Linked DNA regions of Homo sapiens: region 2 is linked to region 1. Evidence: promoter capture Hi-C in 16 types of primary human blood cells and fetal thymus (Javierre and others, 2016). All regions are on one chromosome and are shown on one strand. The core of a region is centred on a gene start or on the middle of the fragment in contact, and the rest is flanking DNA. Distances in the headings are between cores, read along the strand shown.

Region 1 (7,034 bases), core at 1,877-4,376:
ATTGTCCTGACATCATTACTATCAGCACAAACCCCCTTTTCCCAGCCTCAAAAGTTTCTCAGTTTGGACAGAAATTATAGGTCATTCTAATAATAATAATACAGTATTTTCTCAGTTAACTCTCAAAACAATTCTGTGAAGGAATGAGATGTTCATTCCTACTGGATAATGTGAGTAGAGTTTTATAAAAAGACTATCTGCAAAGGTATGTGCAAAATGAAGGGAAACCATAGGGGTTTACTCTGGGTCACCCTAGGGAGGGATACTGGCTGCTTCCTTTGGTTGAGGGAGGCAACCAGCCTGCAATGGTGCCATAGTAAGGGAGCCAGGGGGGAATAAATAACCATACTCCTTCCTCTTTGTTCCATCGCTGTTGCTTCCTAGTGCCTTCACTCAACTGGAAGCTAGAGGGAAAGAAAGTCTCTTGAGTTAAGGCTCCAAAGGACAGACAGCAGGTTGGAGAGTGGATCTGGCTAACAGAACACGTCCTCCCCCAGGACTCACTGTTACTACCCTATTTTACAATAGAAAAAAAAAAAATGAGATGAAAGTTTAACTTATTTGATATAACAAAGCTCATAAGTGATCATCTGTAGCTGAAGTGCCAGGTTCTCCCCACTCTGCCACTCTCTCGCTAAGGCTCCAACATTCTAGCAATGCCAGGATACCCACCCTCCCCATAGCATCTTCACATCCCAAATGAGATGTTGGAATATGTAACGTTAAGTTTTGCTGATTAGAATAAACTAACCTACCCACCAAGGTAGGGCATTCACATTCTTACAATCTAAGCAGATGAGTTTACAGCATATACATTCACAAAATAAATAAGTAAAAAAAAAAAATTTGATAAACAAATTCTACAGTCTGTTCTGGTCAAGATAACACAGTTCCTTTGCAACTGCCCTTACATCCGGTTGGTGGTGTGTGGAGCCCTCTTTTCCCAGGCCTTACATGAGGCCTCTGGTCCATGGGCAGTGCTGCTGCTGTCTGATCCTCCTTATGGAGAAAGGACAAAATGTCCATGTACCAGAGCTGCAGAAGAAAGTATTTGTCTTCCCCCTCCCTTTGCACAGCACCCATCTGTGTGTAATCTTATTATTATATATTTTTTGAGACAGGGTCTCACTGCGTCACCCAGACTGGAGTGTAGTGGCGCGATCTCGGCTCACTGCAACCTCCGCCTCCAGAGTTCAAGCGACTCTCCCACCTCAGCCTCTATAGTAGCTGGGACTACAGGCAAGCGCCACCATGCCTGGCTAATTTTTGCATTTTTTTAGAGCCAAGGTTTCACCATGTTGGCCCACCTCAGCCTCCCAAGGTGCTGGGATTACAGGCGTGAGCCACCGCGCCCGGCCCATTTATGTGTAATCTTAATTCAACACTTATTGAGCGCCTACTGTATGTTTGGCATAAAATGGTGGTCCCTAATTTCAAAAGATTTGGAGTCTAGAGGGCAGAAATTGAAGAGGTTGGTGCTCTGCACGTCTGAGTCCGCCCACAGACTGAATAAATAAGCTCTGCGTCGGCGCCCCTCACCTTTCTTTCATGGCCAGACTTTTCTCTGGCGGTTCCACAGCTGTCCTGACAGTGGAATTCAGACGGGGTGACCAAGCCCCTAGCCCACCTACCAGCGAAATCCAGCATCAGTTCCAGGGCAGCCGGACCCGCGCCCGGGGACGACTGACCCTTAGCCCAAGGCTGCGGGGGCGTCGGAGTCCTGAAGCGCAGGCGAGGCAGGGCCAGCGGGACAGGGAGACTCAAGGCCCCAGGGGATCTGGGCGTTTGAAGACTCAGGTCAGACTCTGAGGCGCCCGTCTAAAGAGACCGGTTGTCTTTTCCCTAATTCAGGAGGCCAGGCTGTCCCTTGGGGCGTCGTACCGAGGGCAGATCACAGCCCTTCCCTCCTCACCACACTCCCTGTGCTTCCACCCAGCTGGTTCCCCGCCCTGTCCATCGCTGTCCTCAATCGCTTGTTGTCGTGGGCCCCCCTCTCCGGCCCACGTGGGGCCGCAGGGATCCACAGCTCATCTGACACACCTCGCTGCCCTGCACGCACCGGGACCCCTCCATTCCGCCGGCCCCTCAGACACGCAGTAACACCCCAACATCTGCTGGGAAAAAAATCTTCCCCACGGCGGAGGAGTTCTCAGTCCCACGCGCCCAGAGTCGCACCCACTCGAGCCACCCGCCTGTTGCCGTCGCCACGCCCTCCAGCCGCAGCCCCAGCGCGCATTCCTACGGGTCGCCGGGTCTGTCGCCAGCGATCGAATGAAGTCGGCTGATCCCCCACGTGTGGCTGCTCCAGTGACACCCAGGGGAGGCCTCGGTCCTTACCCCTAGAGCAACCAATGGCTGCCTTAATTCTTCAGCGGGGGCGTTCTTTTTCTTCCTCCCAAGCAGGCGGCCGTTGGGTCGGCCGAAGGCAGCAGCGACTACTACGGCTCTTCCTCTCCAATGGGATCCCCTGTCTGCCCGCGCGCCACAGTGACAGCTTCCAGATGCCTGTCTTTAGTCTCCCTTCTCAAGGGAAGCGGTGGGCGACCGAGGTGCGGCCTGGAGGGCCCCCATGTGGGAAGGGAAGACTTGCGGAAGGGCAATTCTTCCAGTGCGGAGACGAGGAGGCCAGCCCAGCCGCACTTCGGTCGCCCACCGCTCCGCCTGGTGGTCCGCAGCCCCTTCCAGGCCGGCTTCTCCGGGTGGGGCGTGCTAGTCCGGGGCTAACTTTCCGCCACGTGCTGTCCCTGCGACCCGTCTCCCCCGGTCGCCCTTCCTTCTCCCGGCGGCCGCTGGAGCTGCCCGCTTCGTGGAGCCGGTGGCAGGCCCCGGGGCTGGGAGCTCGCGCCCAGGCTTTTACTCAGATTCCAGCACCTGATGGAGCAGGGGGTGGCGGCCAGCGCACAGGCTGTCGGCATCTCATGGCAGCGGAGACGGTCGTTTGGGGACGGAGGGGCGAGCCCCGCGGCCGGGGCCAGTGGAGCTGGGCTCGGAGCCCGCCCACCATCCTCCCGCCCACCACCGCGGCCGGGCGCGCAGGCTCACACCCCTTCCTGGGGAAGCGAATGGTCCCTTCCAGGCGGGTGGCCATGTTGCTCTAATAAAGCGGGAGGGGCGGCGGCGTGGGGGGAGCAGATGCCGCTGGCTGCCAGCGGGACGCCGGCGAGCAGAGCGCAGCCGCGAGGGAGGCGCGAGGGAGGCGAGCCGGAGCCCGAGCACTAGCAGCAGCCGGAGTCGGCGTAAAGCACCCGGGCGCAGCCGGAGCCGGTGCCGCAGCTGCGATGGCCGTGGCCGTGGGGAGACCGTCTGTGAGTGCTGGGGCCTCGCCTGCTGCTCCTCGGGCGCCGGGTGGTCTCTGCTCTGGGGCGGGTGCGGTGAGGACCACAGGGGAGCCGGGCGGGTGCTCGGCCCCGCGGCGGCGGCGACGGCTGTGGGTGTGTGCACGAATTTGGGCGCGCGTCTGGGGTCGGGGTTAGGAGCCCAGGGGCTCAGTTACGTGATGCAACAGTGGATCGCCTCGTCGCGCCCCTCTTCTGGGAATGCGAAAGAAAAAGGACCCCTCTCCTGTTCCCTTTAAAATAATTCTTTGAGGCGCGGCGTGTCTCAGCCGCCTCCCTCTGCCCGCGCACCTCTTCCCTCGTGACAGCCAGAAGGGCGCCGGGTTCGGGGCTTTCCTCCAGTCTCCCCCGCGCCGAGGGGGCGCTCAGGGCATGGGAATTGCGAGCTGAAGTGCTGCGTGTGGCACTGCTGTAGAAGCAGGTCAGAGGGGTGGGATTTCCGTGGTGGCCTCCCCAGCGCATTGTGAGATCCCGGACACCCTCGGGCATCCACCCGGCTGAGCGGGCCCTGCCCAGGATGTGGACAAAGCCCCAGATAACACACACAAAGTTTTCTGGAGGCTCCCTTGTGGTGTGGGTGGAAGGACTGAAATGTTCTGCGGCTGAAAGGCCGGGGGCGGCGGGCTGAGGAGGCTGGGACGCGAGGAAGAGGAAGGGCGGGCGGGTGCGTGAAGAATCGAGTGCCCCACGGCGGGAGGGAGGAGAGTAGGAGGGAGGAGATACCTTTGCCCCGAGTGTGTGGGCCAAGGCGCCGCGCCTACTGGGTTGCAAGACTCGGTCCGCGCCCCGGGGCCGGGCCGGAGGGGAGCGGGACTCCGAGGGTGCGGTTCAGTGGCCGCTCCGCATCCCCAAGTGAAAGGCGGAGGAAGGGGCGGCGGCGGCCTTTCCTTTTTTTTGAAAGGAGCGGAGCTGGGTGGGAAAGGCGGAGTCCTCCTGTTTTCCCTTTCCCCTTTTCATCGTCGATGTTCACAGTCCACTCGCCTTACTGGCTTTGGGGGCGCCTCGGGCGATGTCTTTCCCTGTCTATCACCTCCTCTTCCCTTTTTCTTCTTCCCTTTCCCACAGCTGTGCAGCTGCAGGTGGTGGCTCGGGAGATTTTGTAGTTACAGACGAAAGACTTACTGAGATACTGGAAGCTCGGAAATCCCAGAAATGCAAGGCTGTGCTCTCAGGCTCCCGGCTCTTCCCCCTCTCCCCGCCTAACTCCTCCCCAGATACGCGCGCCTTTTGCACCCTACCCCCTCGGGAGAAGTTCATGGGTCCCTTTGCGGATTCTAATTCGATTTGGTGGTTCGGCTGCCCGCGGTGCTTTCAAAGACGTTTTCTGCAGTCAGAAAACACAGCGGTCATATCGAATCATGACTGTCTTTTAGGCCTTTTCAACTCTACGATTTAATGACATGGCTCTTTTAAGAATTCTGGTCTTCTTTTGCACATAAATTGTGCTCTTGATAATTAGTGGTCACATGTAGGTTATTGTTACTGAGGGAATTTGCATAGTCTCTGGGCTAGTCGTTTTATTTTTGGTGAGAAAATTGAGGTCTATAGAGGTGAAATTTATCTGGTTAAATTACTCCTCCCCCTGCCCCCCATTATACTTATTAGCAGGCATAGATTCAGAGAACTAAAATAACAATATCTGCTTTAGATAAATTGGCAAACGTTTAGGATTGCAAATATTCAGTGGGGGTGTTTGGCTTTTTCAGTAACACGTATTATTGCTGGTGCATTCTTGAGGGATGGAGGAGGTGGAAGAAATAATTAGCTGCACATTTTCTATAAATTAGTTCATATATGTCAGTTAAATAGGAACAGTATGTGGATTTAAGGTTTAGTTGTGTGGCCGTAATCACATCCAACACCAAGTCGGCCAACCATATGTGAGCTTAATCCCACAGAATTCTTATGTTAGACCTCCCTCTTCAGATAATAGAGGAGATTTTTTTTAAGTATACGTGCACAGAGGAAGTGACTTCTTTCTGCGCACTCTGTTGTCACTGGAATTAAAATTAAATTACAATCTAAAGACAGAAGACTTTTCTTTTGGAAACCTAATGTACGAGTGATTAGGAATTGACTATAAAGTTAGAAAGTCTACAGAAAATATGTGATCACATTTCACAGATAATTGTTGAATCCTTTCACTTTGTTCATTGGGCTATTGTCTTAAGTGTGGTCTCTGCAGTTATGGCTTTAAAACAAAGTCAATGAATGGGGAAGACTCTTGAGACACAGCTCCATGGAATCTACACTGCACCTTTAAAGTTAAGAGTTCTCTGGCCCTCCCATTTCTTATCTAGTCTGTGATTTCACCAAAAGAAAGGAAGGGTGCGCTGAGGGAAAAGAACCACTCCGAAGTTGATTTATGTGTGAATGGAATTTCCCTAGGTATTTAATTAGATTTTTTAAAAAGTTATTTAGGACATATATCTCCTTTTGCGATAACTACCTCTCCCCGCCAGACTGAAGAAAAATGCAATCTGAATAACTTACCCTAAATTTTTGATATTCTTGAATGGGAACATCTGAGTGTGATATCCCAGGTAAATATGACATTTTAGTGGGCAAAAATGCTTACATGTCAAATGCACTATTTTCTATCTTATGAAATGGTTATATTCTGTTACAAACCATTCAAACCTCAAGGCTAAATTCAGGTAAGTTTCTTAAGTGGATTTGTTGTTGACTGCAAAACAAAGCTTCAATTTAGTGTGATACTGTTTATTTCAGTTTTAATTTTGATCCCTAGCTTCTCCATTTCCCCACTGATGGTTTTTGGGCTTAGCCCTAAGAAGACCCTGAAGCACATCTGCTGTTTGCCTAGTATAACTGATGATTAGCAAGAACATTTTACTCCCAAGGGATGTGTCTGCATTTTGGATGAATTAGCATTTTTGCGTCCAAATCCCGGGGCAGCTATTATCTTTATTTTAAACAGAACATGGCAATTTACTCTACTTGGGAATCAGGCTTTATGTAGCTGATGGCCTCTCCTAAGCTGTGGTGTTCATCAGTTTAAAAACTCTAGGAGTTGAAAGGAACGTTAGAGGTCATTTGGGTTAGCCTGCTCCCCAGTGCAGAAATATTTCTTACTTTATCCCTAACAAAAAATATGTGTTTAAACTTCACTGGTGGTGGAGATTTCCCTATGATATCCTTCAAGAAATGCACTTAATTGCTGTTTTATCTGTTGAGCTGAAGGAAATGGAAAACCAAGTTTCCATTTGCTCATTTAACACCATTTATTAAGCACCTGCTATGTGTCAGGAACTTGTTCTAGGTGTTGGGGATATAGCAGTGGACAAGTTTTCTTCTTACCAGGAGCTTTATTGTTTGAGAGATTTGGTGTATTAAAGTGACAGACTTCAGTGTAAATGTGTAAATCATTTAGGGAGAAAAGGAATTATATGCCTATTGCTGACTCAGCAAATATGATTCAGGTGAAGGATCATATCTGTCTGGGGATAATTATAGGCAATTCTTAAAGATGAGGGCAGGGAGTGTGGGAAGTGGAGGAGTACTGCCAATAAAATGTTACTTTCCCTTGTTATAAAATTGCCATTTTTGTGACTTGAAAATGTGGCCCCAGATGGATGGCTGTGGTCGGTGTGCCTGGAGAAACATGAATGGAGCCAAGAAAGGTCCAGGGGAGGGCCACCTAAACAATAAAGGGACTGTCATCTCAGGTCAGTTTTCAAA
Region 2 (7,034 bases), core at 3,262-5,761, 520 kb before region 1:
TCATATGCCATCTTAATTTAAAGAGTAGAAATGTTTGTATTATTTGGAGCTGATTGAGGTTTTAAAAATCAACTTTTTTGAGTTATACTTCATTTCCAATACAATTTTTTTTTTTGAGACTGAGTCTCGCTCTGTTGCCCAGGCTGGAGTGCAGTGGCGCGATCTTGGCTCACTGCAAGCTCCGCCTCCCGGGTTCATGCCATTCTCCTGCCTCAGTTTCCCGAGTAGCTGGGACTACAGGTGCCCGCCACCATGCCCGGCTAATTTTTTTTTTTTTTACTTTTATTAGAGACAGGGTTTCCCCATATTAGCCAGGATGGTCTCAATCTCCTGACCTCGTGATCTGCCCGCCTCAGCCTCCCGAAGTGCTGGGATTACAGGCATGAGCCACTGTGCCCGGCCAATTCATTCATTTTAAGTGTGCTTTTTGTGTGTGGAAGTCATAAAAATCAAAGTTTTTTTCTTGTCGATATGATGACAAAATATTTAATAGAATGCTAAAGATCAACAATCTTGGCCGGGTCTAGTGGCTCACACCTGTAATCCCAACACTTTGGGAGTCTGAAGCGGGAGGATTGCTTGAGGCTAGGAGTTTGAGACCAGCTCAGGCAACATAGAGAGACTCTGTCTCTATTTTCTTTTAAAAATAAAAATTTAAAAGAAGAATAACAGGCTGGGCGCAGTGGCTCACGCCTGTAATCCCAGCACTTTGGGAGGCTGAGGCAGGTGGATCACTTGAGGTCAGGAGTTCGAGACCAGCCTGGCCAACATGGTGAAACCCCACCTCTACCAAAAATACAAAAAATAAGCTGGGCGTGGTGGCGTGTGCCTGTAATCCCAGTTACTCAGGCAGGAGAATCGCTTGAACCCAGTAGGTGGAGGTTGCAGTGAGCCAAAATTGCGCCACTGCACTCCAGCTTGGGTGTCAGAGTGAGACTCTGTCTCAAAATAAATAAATAATAACAATCTTTAATTAAATCATTTATATTGTTATCACAATGGTATAGTTTACAATCCTAGATAAAACCACCAAATGCCTTTTTAGATATGGGCTTAGAAAATGGAAGTAGTGTAAGATAAACCATTTATTTTCTATGAAGGGAAAATATTCAAATTGGCAGCATATAAATTTTGATTCACAGATTGTTTTGGAATGCTTAAATAAAGATAACATTAGCAGAGGTATAAACATGATGGAAACCTTCAATAGCAAACAAAGTACATGTTTTATAACAAGAAAATCAATGAGTAAACAACCAAAAAATAAACAGATGAATAAAGCAAGAAAACATATGTAAGTTCTTTCTTTGTGTTGTATTAGTGTGTAATTATTTTTACTGTCCTGTCTATAATTCATTGGGCTTTTTGAATCTGTAGTTTGTTTCTTTCAAAGGTCTGAAAAACCCTCAATTTTATGTATATATAAATTGAGTGAGAGAGAGACAGAGGTGAGGGTATTTATTACAGAGTGGGGAGAGAGAGAAAAAGACACAGAGAGAGAGACAGAGACAGAGAGATGGGGAAGGGGGATTTATTATAGGAATTGGCTCACACAATTTTGGAGGCTAAATTCCATGACATGCCCTCTACAAGCTGATGACCCAGGAAAGCTGGTGTTGTAATTTAGTCTAAATTTAAAGGCCCTGTCCCAGGGCAGGAGAAGATGATATCCCAGCCTGAGAGAGAATTTAAGTGTGCTTTTAAGTGGTGAGTTTTGAGAAATGTGTATACCCAGTAACGAAACACTTCGGTCAAGATTTCTGTCTCCCCAGAAAGTTCCTTGTGTTCCTTGGCAGTCGTTCTCTCCCGCAACACTGATATGGGTTTTTACAAATACAAGTCTTTTTTTTTTTTTGATTGACAAACTCTTTTACAGACTGATGAAAAAAGGGGATAGAAGTAACAGATGGAAGTCAGATAGCTAATAAAGGGAGATTGCCTGTTCTCCTCTAGGCCTTGTTTCTGCCTTTGAGATCATTGTCATTAGCATCTTTGAAGCCAACTAATCCTTTATCATAACCATCTTTTGTTTAAGATCTCAGTACCATTGTTTTTGCTGAGATATATTCTTTCTTTCTTTTTTTTGACAGAGTTTCACTCTTGTCACCCAGGCTGGAGTGCAATGGCACCATTTTGGCTCACTGCAACCTCCGCCTCCCAGGTTCAAGTGATTCTCCTGCCTCAGCCTCCTGAAGTAGCTGGGATTACAGGCGCCCGCCACCGTATTCTTATTAAGATCTTTTACTTCTATTTAGGAAGAAATAGTGTAAGTTTGCGGATATAATTCTAGCAGTTTTTAAATAATAATCTACTACAGTGACTTCTATAACAGTTGTGACTTCTGTCAGGGATCTAATATCAAGTATGTGCCATCAGATATTATTATTATTTGGATCTTTATGCATCTGGCAGTTTTCTGACTTTTCACTACAACCATGCTTACCATGATTAAGTGATGAATAATGATCTAATTAATCATAGTGTCATGTTTTACATTTCTTTACCTTTTATAAGCACTTTTTAAACTTACTGTGGTAAAATATACATAGGATAAAATTTATCTTTTTAACTATTTTCAATCGTACAATTCCATGGCATTCACATAGGCATATTGTTATGTAACCATTACCACCATCCATCTCCAGAACTTTTTCATTTTTCCAGACTGAAGCTCTGTACCCATTAAACAGTAACTCCTTATTCCCTCGTCTCTCATCCCCTGAAAGCACCATACTACTTTCGCTTTCTGTCAGTTTGACTACTCTAGGTATCTCATATAAATGGAATCATACAATATTTGTCCTTTTGTGTCTGGCTTATTTAACATAGTGTCTTCAGGGTTCATCTATGTTGCAGCATATATCAGAATTTCATTCATTTTTTTAAATAAAAAAGGATTTAGATCACAGATTTCATTCATTTTTAAGTCTGGAAAGTATTTCATTGCATGTATATTCTACATTTGGGCTACCTATTCATTTGTCCATGAAGTCCTTCAGTTGTTTAAAAACTAATTTTATTGAGCTATAATTTCCATTCAATAAACTGTATACATTTAAAGTGTACCATGTGATGAGTTTCGGCATACATATATGCACCTGTGAAACTACTGCTTCAAGCAAGACATGGAGCATTTAGATCATTCCCAAATAATTTGAGTTGATTGTGTTTTGATAGTTCTGCCACCAACTTATGATATTTGGTGAAGCAAATGCTGTAAATTGCATATTCAGCATCTATCCCCACTTCCTCCTTTCTCAAGAACCCCAGTGTTGAACACAACATTCTACAGAGCCCTGTGCTTCAGGGGAAGTTCTAGTAGGTAGATCTTGATTAGTTTAAATCTAATCTTTGTGCTTTCATTCCTCTTCCAAGTGACTGTTTTCAGAGGAAGCATTTGATCTACTTCATGGCATTGAGAAATGAGGGAAGATCAGCTGGGAAAGTTTTCCTCAATCTTTCTTTTCTTTTCTTTTCTTTTTTCTTTGAGACAGAGTCTCACTCTGTCACCCAGGCTTGAGTGCAGTGGCGCCATCTCCCTCACTGCAACCTCTGCCTCCCAGGTTCAAGCGATTCTTCTGCTTCAGCCTCTCGAGTAGCTGGGACTACAGGCATGCACCACCCCACCCGGCTAATATTTTTTGTATTTTTAGTAGAGACAGGTTTTCACCATGTTGGCCAGGCTGGTCTCAAACTCCTGACTTCAGGAGTCACCCACTTCAGCCTCCCAAAGTGCTGAGATTACAAGTGTGAACCACCGTGCCCGGTGTTTTTTCGTTTTGTTTTGTTTTAAATCAGCTGACATCATGCTTTGATCCCCAATCTTAAGGAGACACATGAAGACATGATTCTTTTTGCCTGTGAAAGGCTGCCTAGAGAGATTGCACAAACTTTAAAATAAGATTGATTTTTGTCTATTTAGGATTGTTCTGAGGCCTTCTAAGAAAGACTAAATAAACTTCCAACTTATAATTTAACAATTTATTAGGCCGGGCGCGGTGGCTCACGCCTGTAATCCTAGCACTTTGGGAGGCCGAGGCGGGTGGATTGCCTGAGCTGAGGAGGTCAAGACCAGCCTGGTCTGGTCTCAATCAAAAAGCTTGAGAATTGCCAGACTGGGTGAAACCCCGTCTCTACTAAAATACAAAAAAAAAGTAGTCAGGTGTGGCAGTGTGTGCCTGTAATCCCAGCTACTCGAGAGGCTGTGACAGGAGAATCACTTGAACCCGGGAGGCAGAGGTTGCAGTGAGCCGAGCCGAGATCGCCATTGCACTCCAGCCTGGGTGACAAAGTGAGACTCTGTCTCAAAAAAAAAAAAAACCCTATTTATTGTCTACAGTTAATTTACTTTACCGATTAGTGAGCCAGAATAGCCAGTAGATGTCGCTCTGATTTCATTTTCAGAGATAACCTACTGACTTTTCAATCTCTTAAATATTCCATCTAGAAGCATTTTTAAAAATCCAATAAGTTGACAATCACATTAAAAGTTTTAGCAAAAAATAAAGAGAAAAACATTAGGGCATACTAAGAAAAATTAAAATCAAGAAATGGGAATTTTCAAAAGATCAACTTAATTTTTCCTTCAGTGCTGTTAACAAATACAATGATGTGTGATTGCTAAAAAGTCAAAACAGTGATTAGGAAGATGACATTTAACAGACTGTTTGGTGTAGGGATGCTAAACAAGTGGTAGAGTCAATATGACTGATATATTTTTCTGTTCTGGGGCCATATTCACAATGACAGCAATATGAGCTCAATAACTCACAGTGGGAATTTTTCGTATAGAGACAGAAAATAAAGTTGTAAGCTACATTGGATCTATTTGTCATGAAGGGAAGAATCTGATCAAGAAAGCAGGAGTAATTCTAAGTTAGAGGCAGAAGGAAGGAGAGAAGTAATAGACAGAAAAACACAATGTGAAGCTTCATTTTTGGTACTGTGCTAAGCTTCTCTAAACTTTCTCCCAAACCAGGAAAAACCACGAAGGGGTTTCCTTGTGTATTACTCTGAACTCTTTCAGTTGCAAGAAGCAGAAACTCAACCCCCGCTGGTTTAAGGAAAAAATAAACAGGTACCTATGGGGTCATAAAACTGGTAATTGTAGGAGTGGGGTGGCTTTAGGCCTGGCTGCATCTGCTTATGGTGGCCTAAAGCCACCCCACTCCTACAATTACCAGTTTTATGATCCCATAGGAACTTGGAAAGTTAAGGGTCTTCAGGGTCAAAACTGCTTTTGTAATAATACTAAGACATTGTGTACCTTTTCCACTTGCTCTCTCAAAAATGTATAGGGGAATCTTCCAGTGGCTATATGCCATGTGATATTGAACAAATTGAATACAGAAGCAGATGGTAGAATCCAACCATCTTCTACTAACCTGGCCATTAAAGAGAGTTGCAAATATGTGAAACAGTGCCACTCTTCTTGGTAATATTTTTTGTTTGAGACAATGTAATTATTTTTCATAAAAATATTAATATGTTACTTTAACATATAAAGATTTATTATTTTTAAATGAATTAATACATAAGTATTTTAAAATGTTCTTTTCTATTTTCTAATATAGTAAATATTGATCAATACAAAACACATAAAATTTATCTGGAGTCTTCAATAATTTTTAAGCATGTAAGGGTTCCTGAAACCAAAAAGCTTGAGAATTGCCAGCTTCAGTAAGGTACAATTGGGCACAAGGCTCAATGGTATCACCAGAACTGTCTCCCCCTTATCATAGACTGCTTTTCTCAGAGCTGGTTTCCTTCTCAGGCGTGTGATATCAAAGATGACTTCCAGCTGGGGCGTGGCAGCTCACACTTGTAATCTCAGCACATTGGGAGGCTGAGGCGGAAGGATCACTTGAGCCCAGGAGTTTGAGATCAGCCTGGGCAACAGAGTGAGACCCTGTCTGTACAAAACAATTTTTAAAACTGGCCAGGCATGGTGACATGCACCTGTAGTCTCAGCTACTTGCGAGGCTGAGGTGGGAGCACTGCTTGAGCCTGGGAGATTGAGGCTACAGTAGGCCGCCATCACACCCTGCATTCCAGCCTGGGCGACAAAGCTAGACTCTGTCTCAATTAAAAAAAAAATAAAAAATAAAAAAAGACTTCCAGCAACTCAAAAATTTTATCTACCAACCTAGCAAACCATAGGAGAAAATGCCATTTTTTGACAGCACTAGTAAAATTTCTAGTTATAACATTGGTCACACTTAAGTCTCATGCCCATCCACATATCAATCATTTGAGCCAGGGGTTGGTTGATTCCTGGGTCATTACGTCCACCCTGGAGCCGGGGACAGGGGCAGCCCACCAGCACCACAGGATCGAGGAAGAAGTGGTTCCCTAGAAAGATGATGAATGGGGCATAAAAGAAGTCCTCTATTAGAAAGCCTGAGTCCTATGCTGTTCTCAGTTAGAATCCCAACCTTTCTTTCCACTGTCAGCACCTTGAGACAATAGAGTTGCCTTTCTCTTCTTGGGGAGGAGTCTGATTGCATTCTGTAATTAAGAGTTTGCATCCAAATCACATATCCTAACAGAAGTTCTTCTTACGAATTAGCAGTGCTATGCCAAAAGAAAGTTGTCTTTTCACCGTAAACTATGCAGAACACCTGACTTAAGCTAGGATTTCATTCCTAAACGTCTGAAGATTTAAATTTCATGCCTGCCTGTGTTGCTTGCAGGATTACTCTGGTCAGATCATTTAACCTTCTGGTGGCCTCTGTGTCCTTACCTCTAAAATCAAGGGTGTGGGAGGATTGTCTCTTGCAGCTTTAACATTCTTTGAATCTGATCAACAGAAGATGGAGGAAAAAAGTTCTTCCAAACCTGGTCTATCAACTGCTATAGTGAAGGTCCACAAAATGAAGTTTTACATTTTTTTTTCAGATTACATATCAATTTTGGTTCTATGTTTGTTTCTTCAATATTTTTGGTGATAATCTAAAATGGAGATTTCATCAGTCTGCAAGCACTGGGTTCATATTATCTTTTCCTTATTTCCTTTGCCTTTAGCTTCATTACTT

What was found. The method cuts DNA at HindIII sites, captures the fragments that hold promoters and counts their contacts. A CHiCAGO score of 5 or more calls a contact.
Region 2: a fragment that was not itself captured here is called in contact with the fragment with the promoter of SEPTIN11 in region 1 in 2 of 17 cell types (erythroblasts and endothelial precursors); the score reaches 5.8 in erythroblasts.

What each region holds. Positions count from the first base shown.
Region 1 is chr4:76,946,626-76,953,659 of GRCh38, forward strand. It overlaps SEPTIN11 (septin 11), which reads left to right and starts at 3,127. Exons shown (of 10, transcript NM_018243.4): 1 at 3,127-3,305. The coding sequence starts at 3,279. LOC105377294 (a long non-coding RNA gene) reads right to left here and starts at 2,940. Exons shown (of 3, transcript XR_001741739.2): 1 at 2,338-2,940. RefSeq lists an enhancer at 1,912-1,991 and silencers at 2,902-3,081, 3,112-3,421. The HindIII fragment of the contact is 7,046 bases long and covers 1-6,032 here.
Region 2 is chr4:76,426,589-76,433,622 of GRCh38, forward strand. No RefSeq gene overlaps it. Among named protein-coding and RNA genes, the nearest start is that of SHROOM3, 5.1 kb to the right of the region's middle. The HindIII fragment of the contact is 829 bases long and covers 4,098-4,926 here.